2 separate regions of the Homo sapiens genome follow, and region 1 is linked to region 2. The links are contacts of gene promoters, found by promoter capture Hi-C in human tissues and cell types (Jung and others, 2019). All regions are on one chromosome and are shown on one strand. The core of a region is centred on a gene start or on the middle of the fragment in contact, and the rest is flanking DNA. Distances in the headings are between cores, read along the strand shown. Region 1 overlaps SAP130 (Sin3A associated protein 130). Region 2 holds the start of POLR2D (RNA polymerase II subunit D).

What was found. Contacts are between HindIII fragments. The study calls those that stand out against the background at their distance.
Region 1: a fragment that was not itself captured here is called in contact with the fragment with the promoter of POLR2D in region 2 in 1 of the 25 tissues and cell types used here (pancreas).

Annotation. Positions count from the first base shown.
Region 1 is chr2:127,982,520-127,988,363 of GRCh38, reverse strand. SAP130 (Sin3A associated protein 130) reads left to right here. Exons shown (of 21, transcript NM_001330301.2): 14 at 1,402-1,579. Among named protein-coding and RNA genes, the nearest start is that of SAP130, 43 kb to the left of the region's middle. RefSeq lists an enhancer at 1,899-2,399. The HindIII fragment of the contact is 5,804 bases long and covers 1-4,868 here.
Region 2 is chr2:127,854,569-127,860,248 of GRCh38, reverse strand. It overlaps POLR2D (RNA polymerase II subunit D), which reads left to right and starts at 2,094. Exons shown (of 4, transcript NM_004805.4): 1 at 2,094-2,221. The coding sequence starts at 2,149. It also overlaps the pseudogene LOC107985803. RefSeq lists a silencer at 1,950-2,259 and an enhancer at 2,490-2,659. The HindIII fragment of the contact is 23,647 bases long and covers 1-5,680 here.

The DNA.
Region 1 (5,844 bases), core at 717-3,216, 130 kb before region 2:
TAGCCTTGACCTTCTGGGCTCAAGCAGTCCTTATGCCTCAGACACCCGTGTAGCAAGGACTACAAGTGCATGCCACCACACCTGGGTAATTATTTTTGATTTTTTGTAGAAACAGGATATTGCTTGTTGCCCAGGCTGGTCTCGAACTCCAGAGTTCAAGCTATCCTTCAGCCTTGTCCTCCCAAAGTGCTGCGATTGCAGGCATCAGCCACTGTGCCTGGCTGGAGCTATGAATTTTAATTGTTCTGTAGACCTTGAATTCAACTATTTAATCAAAGTCTCTCTGATTTTTTATTACTAAACTAAATGTCTATGATAGAGATGCAATTTACCCATGATGACCCACCCGGTAGGATGGTGTACTACATATTTAAGGGCACCTGCCAGAAAACTCATGATATTAAGTTGACTCCTATGAAATTGCCATTTTTATAGGTCAAAAACTGTCAAACACAGGTATTTTCTGATTATGATCTCATGCTCACCAGTATTTTGATGCTAACTTTAAGTGTATAGTTAAAATATCTGTTAGTTGAATGTGTTTCTAAAGATAGACTGGGGAGGGTACCATTATTGAGGGTTGAGAGAGATTGGTATTTTACAAAAACTGAATGAGTACATTTCTTGAAGTGTACATTGGAGCATGCTATCAGGCTGGTAGATAGTGTTTTCTATTTGTGGCTCTTGTATTAAGCCTTTCTTGTCTGTCAGTTTTCTTATCTCTAAAATGGAAATTACAATGATGGTAAGAATTATATCAGTAAAAAATGTAAAGTAACTAGTAGAGTGAGAGACTATACTAGATACTATGTACTTTGTTCACCTTATCTCATTTATTAGTAACTGTGATTATAGAGCAAAGAAAAAATAATGGTATGGGCCAAGTGTGGTGGCTCACGCCTGTAATCCCAGCACTTTGGGAGGCCAAGGCAGGTGGATCACTTAAGGTCAGGAATTCGAGACTAGCCTGGCCAACACGGTGAAACCCCGTCTCTACTAAAAAATACAAAAATTATCCAGGTGTGGTGGTGCACGCCTGTAATCCCAGCTACTCTTGTGGTTAAGGCAGGAGAATCACTTGAACCTGGGAGGTGGAGGTTGCAGTGAGCTGAGATTGCACCACTGTATTCCAGCCTGGGCAAGAGAGCAAGACTCTCTTTCAAACAAAGAAAAAGAAAAAATAATGGTATGGATCATGCATCAGTAGACTTAGTAACTGCTCCCATTTAGCTATCTGCTCTTTGTCGGATGAACATTGTGCTCCTGTCCCTTATCAGTTTGAAATTGGACAGTTAGAACATGGATACCTAATTCTAGTGGTCTCATCATTTTTATTTATGTCTTCTATGGCATTTTGTTTCCCTCTCTTCAATGTTCTTTCCTGTTGCCTCTCTCCTGTAGCAGTGGTGTTGGCAGATGGAGCCACAATTGTGGCCAACCCTATTAGCAATCCATTCAGTGCTGCTCCAGCAGCAACAACCGTGGTGCAGACCCACAGCCAGAGTGCTAGCACCAACGCTCCCGCCCAGGGCTCATCGCCACGGCCAAGCATACTCCGGAAGAAACCTGCCACAGATGGGTGAGTAGACCTGGTAGTGCCGAATGACACCTCTGGTTCTGGATATAACTGGTATACATAATAGGCACTCTTATCTAATGCTGGTATCAAACTCATCTCTCATTTTCTGTGGTGTGTTAAAATTTCCTCCAAAACAACTTGACCACAGGATTATTCAGTAGAGCCTTACCCAGCTGAGACTGTAAGATCTTAACAAATCCTGGAGTCAGTGAGGTGTTAGTTTGTAAGCATCTGTTGCATACTGCTTTAATTCTCTCTAGTTCTGGAACTTCAATCATAGAACTTTTAAAGTAGTTTATAAGTAACTCTTGGGCTTGTGTAGGTAGTTACCTTAACTCATACTATAAACTTCATTCAGCATGAATCGTTGCTGTTGAAACGGGAAAAGTTCCCTTGTCCCCCTCGCAGGGCGTGCAACAGTGGGAGTGGCTCGCTTCTTCATTGCCCTGCTACTCAAACCTCTAGGGGAGCATACAGACAGGCAGGCTGTGTCGCTCCAACCCTACAGCAGTGTCTAGAGGTGAATGTTTACAGCTGAAACCCCAGTGGGCATGTGTTACAGAGTGCTCTTTTAGTTTAGCCATCCATAGATGGCTTGCATTAACCAGCTCAATTAGACCCCTGCCTTATGGCAAGGACAGAGAGCTTTCTGTATCCCAGGGTTCTTGCCTTGGTGTACTGGAAGAATGGGATCACACGTGGGCTTGGAGAATGAGTGTAGGGTTTTACTGAGTAGAAGTAGCTCTCAGCAGATGGGGGAAGCCAGAAGGGAGATGGAGCGGCCCCAGCTCTCTTGACTGCCCTGGCCAAACTGCGTCGTTCTGCTGGTCGGGGGCCTGCTGGCATGCCAGCGTCTGTCATGTGCTCTTCCACCGGCATGCTCCCCTTGCTGTCCTCTCGCCGTCCAGCTGCTTGTGTCTTTTGCCAATGCGTTCCTCTTGACGTCCAGCCACTTGTGTGCCTGTCTGCTAGGGTCTCGGAGGTTTTTACAGGCACAGGATCAGGGCGTAGCAGGCCAGGGTGGTCTGGGGGAAATGCAACATTTGGGCAGGAAAACAAAAATGCCTGTCCTCACCTAGATCCGTGGGCACAGGCTGGGGGTGGAGCCCTCACCAGGGACCCGCCCCTTCCCAGCACTTCCCTACTCCCCTTCTATGTCACTGTGGGCAAACAAATTCTGAAGTGTAGTAAGGGTCATATTTGGTAGCAGATAGTGTTTTGTGTTGCCATGTAAGCTTCTCAGTTGGTGGATCATAGGCAGGAAGGTATGTGCTGTGCTGTTTGAGTTAAACATTCTGGAGGTGGGAGATGAGCAGACATGTTTCAGAGAGCAGAGTTTCTGTGGCTCAGCTGAGCTAATAGCATCAACATCAAAAGATTAAAGCAAGTGCAAACTTAAATTGCTGGGACTAGGGTCCATGCAGGGTTTTTATTTGCACAGAGCTGTGCATATACCAGAGTCCCTATCTTTGCTGTTTATGAATACTTTGTACTTTTTTAAAGGATAAGTCAGTCCATGACAAAGTTACCTTATTAGTAAAAACACAAGGCAAAGCTTGTGGTTAAGATGACAGATTGATTACACACATCTAAAATCTTTCTGTCTCATAACCCTATATAACTTTTTTTCAAAAAAGTTGTAAACACACAAGGATGGGGAGAACAGGAGAGGACACAGTAGCAACTGAAGCTGGGAAGCAGACCATCACGCGATGGCGTCCTGGCTCTGAGAAAGCTAAATGTGAAGCTTGCGTAGGGGAAAGTTGAGAACCATCCTCTTTTAAAATTGGAAAATCTTCAAAAGGACCAACAACAGGCAAATCCTGGGGGCGAAGGAAGGGGCTCTGTCCTTTAAGGAGGATAAGTTAAAACCTTTGAGTTTGAAAAGTGTTAAAGTTAGAGCCCAGAATCCCATTTTCTACCTATGCCATGTGGTGTACTGCCCCTTCCCGACTTTAGCAGGAGCCTGAAAGTTCAAACTCTGCAGATGGTCCGCTAGGGTCACCCAGCACTATAGAGGTCATGAGTATTTTACCAGAAAGAGATTGTGACTCACCGTGTGTGTGTGGAGTGCTGAACACTTCCCAGTCCACTCCCTGCTTTCAGCTGATAGAACTCTGGCAGGTGAACTTGATTCTAGATAGAAAATGAGAAGAGGACTCTACTTTCCTTCTGGGGAGTCTATCCAGCCCAAGGGGAAGCTCTAAAGATACTGACACTAGGGCTTCCTTAAGGACAGGGTTAGATTACCCTACAGTGGACCTCATAGTAGACATGCCCTTCCAAAGCTCAGAGCTCCCAGCCAGCATTTCAGTCCCTCTCCCCGACTCTTAATCATGAACATACAACCAAAGATAGGCACATATCTGAGGGGACCTCTAACGGTGGAAGACAGAAACCACAATAAATACATGCCCAAAGCACCTTGGAAGATGTAGAGGCCTGGCAGGGAGAATAAAACACAAAACAAATGAGCAAGGATAAGCAAACAGTATCCGTGATGCCTTCAGAAAGACAAAAGAAAAGGTTGCATCCACAAAACAGTAACACAGTGCTATGCAAAAAGAACATTCAGAGGAGAAAAGAACCGGTCCTGAAATAAGATAGCAGAAATTGAAAGATCAGTAGAAGAGTTGGAAGATAAAATTGAAGAAATCTCAAACGTGGAACAAAAAGACAAGAAAATTGGAGAAAACGATAGGAGAAAATTTAAAACAACAATAAAAAGAACCAGGTCAGGAAATCCAGCCTCCAGGTAATGGGTTTCAACAAGAGAGATCAGAGAAAAGGAACAGGGATTACAAAGTAAGGAGTTTGTTATAATATTGTAATCTCAGTTCAAAAGTTAACTGCAAATATAAAACCCAATGATTTCTATATAGTAAATTGAACTGTAAAGGTAACTTGTGTGTGATTCTGAATACATAGATAAATGTTTAAAAAAAAAAAAAAAAAAAAAAACAACAAAGTAATAGAAAATTACCAAAACTGAAAGAAATGAGTTTCCTGGTTACAGAAATGCCCTGCACAGTATTCAATGGATGCAATAAACTCAGGCCAGTATTTTGAAATTTGGCAGCACTGGAGACAAAGAGATGTGCCTGCTTCTCCCGTACTTCCTCCCAAAGACCCTTGTACTGTGCCCTCTAATTCACAGCCTGTCATCACATGACACTCCAACCTCCACCCCAGTGCCCTTGTCTCTTCTTTCTCCACGCCTTCTTGCTTTAAACCTGGGACTCAACTTGCCCTGCAGCTGTCTAAAGTGGTCCCTGCCTCTCTTCCACATCCCTACTGTCACTCAGCCTGGAGGTAGGCAGGGTGTCCTTGTCATGCCTCACTGCCATTTTCAGACCATTTCTCCTCAAAAGCACTTGATCTGTATTTAGATTTCATAAAATGTACAGTTGAAAAAGTAGTTTCACATAGCCAAGTTATTCCAGACAATAAAAAGTTTCTCAGTAACTGGATCGAGTATCCATTATAAAATTCAAATTAATTAAAATGAAATAACATTAAAAATTTTGTTCCTGAGTTGCGCTTGCCACATTTCAGTTGCTCAGTAGTACCATATGGCCTTCTTGTTGGGCAGGGCAGATCTAGAGGCGCAGAGTCAAGTTAGATTTTGCAGGTGTATCTGTATGCCTTTTGGAAGGACATGATGTCTGGCACTTTTTAGTGATAGTGGAACCCTCTCTTCACCTTTAATGATCAGAAATGATTTTCCAGCTCCCTGGCCCCTCAGGTGCTTGAATGCTTCTCCTGCCTCCACCCTCCCCACCAGTTTGGGCACTTAGCACATAAGCTCAGTGAGCCTTCCTGACCTTGTCTCTGTGCTCCCATGCCCCTAGCCCATCTTCTTTCTTCCCACCTCCCTCCCAATGGAACTCCAGCTCCAGAGGGACCCCAGCAGCCTCCAGTCCATTGATCCACCTTTTCATGTTCTTCACTGCCTCTCATGGCCTCTTTCTCTGCTCTTCCTGATTCAGAGTCTGTGGTCACTTGCAGTCATTTCCTTAACCCCCATCCCACTTCGCTTTGTCAAAACCAGACTTAAATCCAACTTTCTGCTTCATTTACGCTGGCACATGTACAGCAAATTGCAGCAGGGAAAGCCACTTTGCCAACTGGTCTTGCTTAGCCTCGCAGACGCACTAAGGTCTTAAAGCAGCCCATCAAAGTATACTCTCTTGCACCACTCCAGATAACTATTTTACGTTTCCTTCTCTCAAAACTCCCAGGCTTCTTCCGTCTTCACTGTTAGT
Region 2 (5,680 bases), core at 845-3,344:
CCCCCAGTATGGCTATTCTGTGATCACATCGTGGCTCCCAACCAAAGAAATAACCCAGGGCGGGTGACAGCTAGAATCTTTTCTGGCTGGCAGTCCCACAGGCCTAAGCGCAAATCTTGGTCCTGCCATTTATAAGGCATTTCCTACTTTGTGACAGGACTGTGAATCTCCAAAGTAACCTGACCTTAGAGAAGTCATAGGTAAAAAGTAAAAATAGTAAATGTTTTGCCCAGACCCCAGCACATGGTGCAGTGGCTGGGCAGCTGTGGTTATCTGGCCTGTCACTCAGTGCTGGGTGTACAAGGGAACACCGGCAAGCATCAAACCCTCCGGAACCTTCAGCTTCTCTGAGCACGTGAAAGGGGGCGTGGCCAGCCCTTCAGGTCTGGGCAGGTTCCTTAGAGAAGCAGTGCTGAAGCAAAGAGCATGCCCTGGAGGAGGGAACTTCTCAGGTGGTGGGAGACCACATTGCCGGCACTGCAAGACAGCAAGACGCTGTGGACGAGCCCTCGCAGGAGATCAGGCTGCACAGGCCAGACAGGATTCCCAGGACTGCCTTCTAAAGGTTTTCTTTTTCTTTAGTTTTAAAATTTTTACTTTTTAATTTTTTAAGTCTTTTTAAAAATTATTATTTGAGACAGAGTCTCACTCTGTCGCTGTCGCCCAGGCTGGAATGCAGTGGCGCGATCTCGGCTCACTGCAACCTCCGCCTCAGCCTCCCGAGTAGCTGGGATTAAAGGCGCCCGCCACCACGCCCCGGCTTTTTTTTTTTTTTTTTTTTTCTGTAGAGACGTGATTTCACCATGTTGGCCAGGCTGCTTTCGAACTCCTGACCTCAGGTGATCTGCCCCCCCCACCCCCACCGGCCTCCCAAAGTACTGGGATTACAGGCGTGAGCCCCCGCGCCTGGACTTTGCCTTTTTTTTTTTTTTGGCAGGGTCTCTGTTGCCCAGGCTGGAGTGCAGTGAGGCAATCATAGTTCACTGCATCCCTCAAGCGATCCACCCGCCTCGGCCTCCCCGATCCCTGTGACTACAGGCACGCGCCACAACGCCCGGCTAATTTTTGTATTTTTTAGAGACGAGGTCTCACTATGTTGTCTAGGCTGGTCTTCAACTCCGGAGCTAAAGCGATCCTCCAGCCTCGGCCTCCCAAAGTGCTGGGATTACAGGCGTGAGCCACCGTGCCCGGCACAATTCATTTTTTATTAAATCAACAGAGTTTACAATATGACCATCTAAACATTGTTGACTAATGAGCTAAGATATTGTTGACTAATAAGCTATGATTATTTACCTTATTGTACAACCTTTTGTTTTCTCCAGTGTCGAAAACAGCATCATTTTTTATTTGCTTTTTTTTTTTTTTTAATATATTTTTTGAGACGGAGTCTTACTCTGTCGTCCAGGCTGGTGTGCAGTGGCGCGATCTCAGCTCCCTGCAACTTCCGCCTCCCGGGTTCAAGCGATTCTCCTGCCTCAGCCTCCCCAGTAGCTGGGATCACAAGCGCCCACCACCATGCCCGGCTAATTTTTGTATTTTTAGTAGAGATAGGGTTTCACTATGTTGCCCAGGCTGGTTTCAAACTCCTGACCTCAGGTGATCCCCTCGCCTCGGCCTCCCAAAGTGCTGGGATTACAGGCGTGAGCCACTGCGCCCGGCCGTCATTTGCTTAATTTTCTACGCATCACCCAAATGTTCCAACAGACGTGTGGTAAAAGCCTCTGAATATCATTGTCCGCGTACTCAGAAGTATCAGATAATCCACCACAAATCAATAAAATTTTAGAAGTTTAAGTCGGTGAAGGAAATTGGACCCGGTACTTTCGGAGCCGGCTGCCCTGCTCTCCATCAGCAGGCGTTCCTGCATCTCATCTGACCTCCTCCGTCCAGAAAGGCGTAGGGACCTGCCCCAGGACGTCTGCGCGGCGAGGAGCATGGGAGAAGAGAGGGAGTGCAGGGCGCCCCTCGGTGGCGGGGAGCCTCCAGGACCTCACCAACCGGTCCCCTCGCTGCGCCCCGTCCGGCTCGCACTCCCGGCCCCGCCCACCCCTCGGGGCCCCTCCCGAGACCACGCCCCTTCCGCGGCCGTTGCTCCGCGCTTCTGCTTCCGGCGGCGCTGGTGGTGGCGCGCGGCGCGGCGCGGCGATGGCGGCGGGTGGCAGCGATCCGCGGGCTGGCGACGTAGAGGAGGACGCCTCACAGCTCATCTTTCCTAAAGGTTGGGCTCGGGGCTGCCAGACTCCCCCGCGCCACTTCGCGTGGTCGCCGCAGGCCTGGCGTTATGCGCGCTTCGCCCAAGGCCCTGCCTCAGCGGCGGCTTGGGCAAGCCCCAGCGCGGCGTGGGGCTGGGGAGGGAACATGGCCTTGGGAGGGACCATGGCCTTGGGAGGGACCGCCTGGGCAACTGGGTTATTTTATGTGATAAACTGCGAAGTTCCGGGGACCTGTGTCAAAGATAAACAAAGCCGGACACTCAGGTGGTAAGGACAGATTTTTAAACAGTAATATACTGTTGCACTAGGGAAAAGAGCCCAGCGTGAACCGAACTCAACTTCGATTAGTACAGAACCTCTGGGCGTTTTAACGGAGAATTAGGGAATAAGGATGTGGTGAGCGGGAGCTCGGGGGAGTCGGGGAAGTGAGAAATGTAAAAAAGCGGGAAGAGGAGGATTGGTCCGTGTGAACGCAGCTTGGTTTGTTGACTGGCGCACCTGTCGAAGTTAGGCCCCTACCCTCCCACAGAGGCAGAGAGACAGAGTCCTATCTTCAGCTGTTGGCTGGAACAAATTATTTTGGCAGCCTTGAGTTTTCTCACGCACGCACTTTAAGTGGTTGGGGAGGGTATTCCTAGGGATGAGGTCTTCAGCTCAAAAACTTGAAAATGTATACAGCTGTCTTACACTTTATTGATTTATTGATTTATTGATTGAGATAGGGTCTCGCCCTCTTGTTGAGGCTGGAGTATAGTGGCATGATCAGAGCCCACTGCAACCTCAACCTCTCAACCGCTCAAGCTATCCTCCCACCTCAGCCTCCCAAGTAGCTGAGACCACAGATGCACGCCCCCATACCTGGCCCATTAAAAAAATTTTTTTCGTAAAGACAGGGTCTCACTATGTCGCCCAGGCTGGTCTCAAACTCCTGGGCTTAAGTTAATCACGGCACCTGACCTATCTTATTCTTTTATTCATTCATTCATTTACTTATTTAGAGACAGAGTCTCACTCTGTTGCCCAGGCTGGGGTGCAGTGGTACGAACTCGGCTCACTGCAACCTCCGTCTCCTGGGCTCAAGTGATTATCCTGCCTCAGCCTCCCGAGTAGCTGGGATTACAGGTGCCCACCACCACACCCGGCTAATTTTTGTATTTTCAGTAGAGCTGGGGTTTCACCATGTTGGCCAGCCTGTTCTCGAACTCGTGACCTCAGGTGATCCACCCAGCTCGGCCTCCCAGAGTGCTGGGATTACTGATGTGAGCCATTGCCTGGCAAAATAATAAATTTAAAATTAAAACGGAAATACTACCCTCTAAGAAATAAAAAATATAAAAATGAAAAAATGTTTATTATGTGTTTTTTGTATTTTATGGTTTAATACGTTAGAACTTACTATTTTAGTTGTTAATTTATTTTTTTTAATTTTTTTTTTAATTTTATTTTGAGATAGGGTTTCACTCTGTCACCCAGGCTGGAGTGCAGTGATGTGATCTCGGCTCACTGCAACCTACCCCTCCTAGTTTCAAGCCATCCTGCCTCAGCCTCCCAAGTAGCTGGGACTACAGGCGCCTGCCACCATGCCCAGCTAATTTTTGTGTTTTTAGTAGGGACGGTGTTTCACCATGTTGGCCAGGCTGGTCTCGAACTCCTGACCTCAAGTGATCCACCCACCTTGGCCTCCCAGTGCTGAGATTACAGGTGTGAGCCACCTCACCCTGCCTTTTTTTTTTTTTTTTTTTGAGACGGGATCTCATTCTGCTACCTAGGTTGGAGTGCAGTGGTGTGATCACAGCTCACTGCAGCCTCAACCTTCCCTAGGCTCAGGTTATCCTCTCACCTCACTTCAGCCTCTGGAATACTTGGGACTACAAGTGCAGGCCACCACTCCTGGCTAATTTTTGTATTTTTTTGTGGAGACAAGGTTTCACCATGTGGCCCAGGCTGGTCTTGAACTCCTGGGCTCAGGTAATCTGCCCGCCTCGACCACCCAAAGTGTTAGAAAGTATAGGTGTGAGCCACTGCACCTGGCCTATTAATGGTCGTAATGACGTATCCTCGGTAAAATTTCCAGATGACATACAGCCAAGGAGTTGTTTTTCCTTTTTTAGCAACAGAGATTAATTATGGCCATTGTTCTTAAAATATTTGCACAAGAGAAAATAACAGGCAGATCCCCTGATCTATTTCCTTTTGTTTCTAAATAAATTGTGTGTGTGTGTGTGTGTGTATGTGCGCGCGTGTGCGCGCCTTCACTTGAAAATGTTCCTTGGGATTAGCCATGGGGAGAAGTCTTGGATCCCTCCTCTCCATAGTTACACAAAAGTGTCTGAACTGCCTCCCCCATCCCCATTTTGTTGATGCTGAATCCTGGGAATGCCTCCCAAAAGCTCTGTGGTAGGTCTCAGACACCACTTTCCTAGGCACTCTGAGTTACAGTTTGGCTGCCTCGACCTTCCTTGGTTGAAGGGAGTGAGGGTAATGTATTAGTAGTACTTGGGTATTGTTCTTAATGAGAAATAGGGACAGTTGACCAGTTTCCTGGTGTCCTAAAAGTTCCATTCCTTTCCATTTAACAAGTAATTTGGTTTAGTGCAGAAAGGGACCATCTCTCTTTTTTTTTTTTTTTTTTTTTTTTGAGACGGAGTTTCACTGTTGTTGCCTTAGGCTGGAGTGCAGTGGCACAATCTCGGCTCACTGCAACCTCCACCTCCCGGGTTCAAGCAATTCTCCTGCCTCGGCCTCCTGAGTAGGTGGGAGTACAGTCATGTGCCACCACTCCCGACTAATTTTTGTATTTTTAGTAGAGATGGGGTTTCACCATGTTAGGCTGGTCTCGAACTCCTGACCTCAGGTGATTCACCTGCCTTGGCCTCCCAAAGTGTTGGGATTACAGGCGTGAGCCACTGCGCTTAGCCTGGGAGGCATCTCTTAACATTGATTTTTCCAGGACCTGTAAAAGCATCAAAGTTCCAACAAACAGATTTGTAACTGATTAGCTGCTGCTTCCCTTTTTTTTTTTTTTTTTTTTGGCCTGATGTCATTTGTTACTGTCACTTCAGAGTTTGGAGGTTCTGCAGTCCTGATACATAATGCCTTTTCCTCTACTCATTGCTGTGAGGCAGTAGTTTCTTCTGTACCTACACTGCCTCAGTGTTAAGGATTAAAAGAGGTAACTTTCCTGGTATACAAATAGGCTCTCACTGTAGTAAATCCCCTGTTATAGGCTAGAAGACTGAAAAAGAAGGTGTTCTGAGGTTTTCGTTTAAACTCTCCTGCCCTCAGGTAGAAAACAGTTTTTGGTTACCTATTTTTTAATTTATATTTTAATTTTATTTCAATAGTGCTCCAACTGTATTGGCAGCCTATTCTATTTAGTAGCAATGAGTACCTTTCAAATAAAAATACAGTTTCCTCCTGACCCACCACTTAAAACTATCTGTGTTGTAAAAGGAAAATGAAGC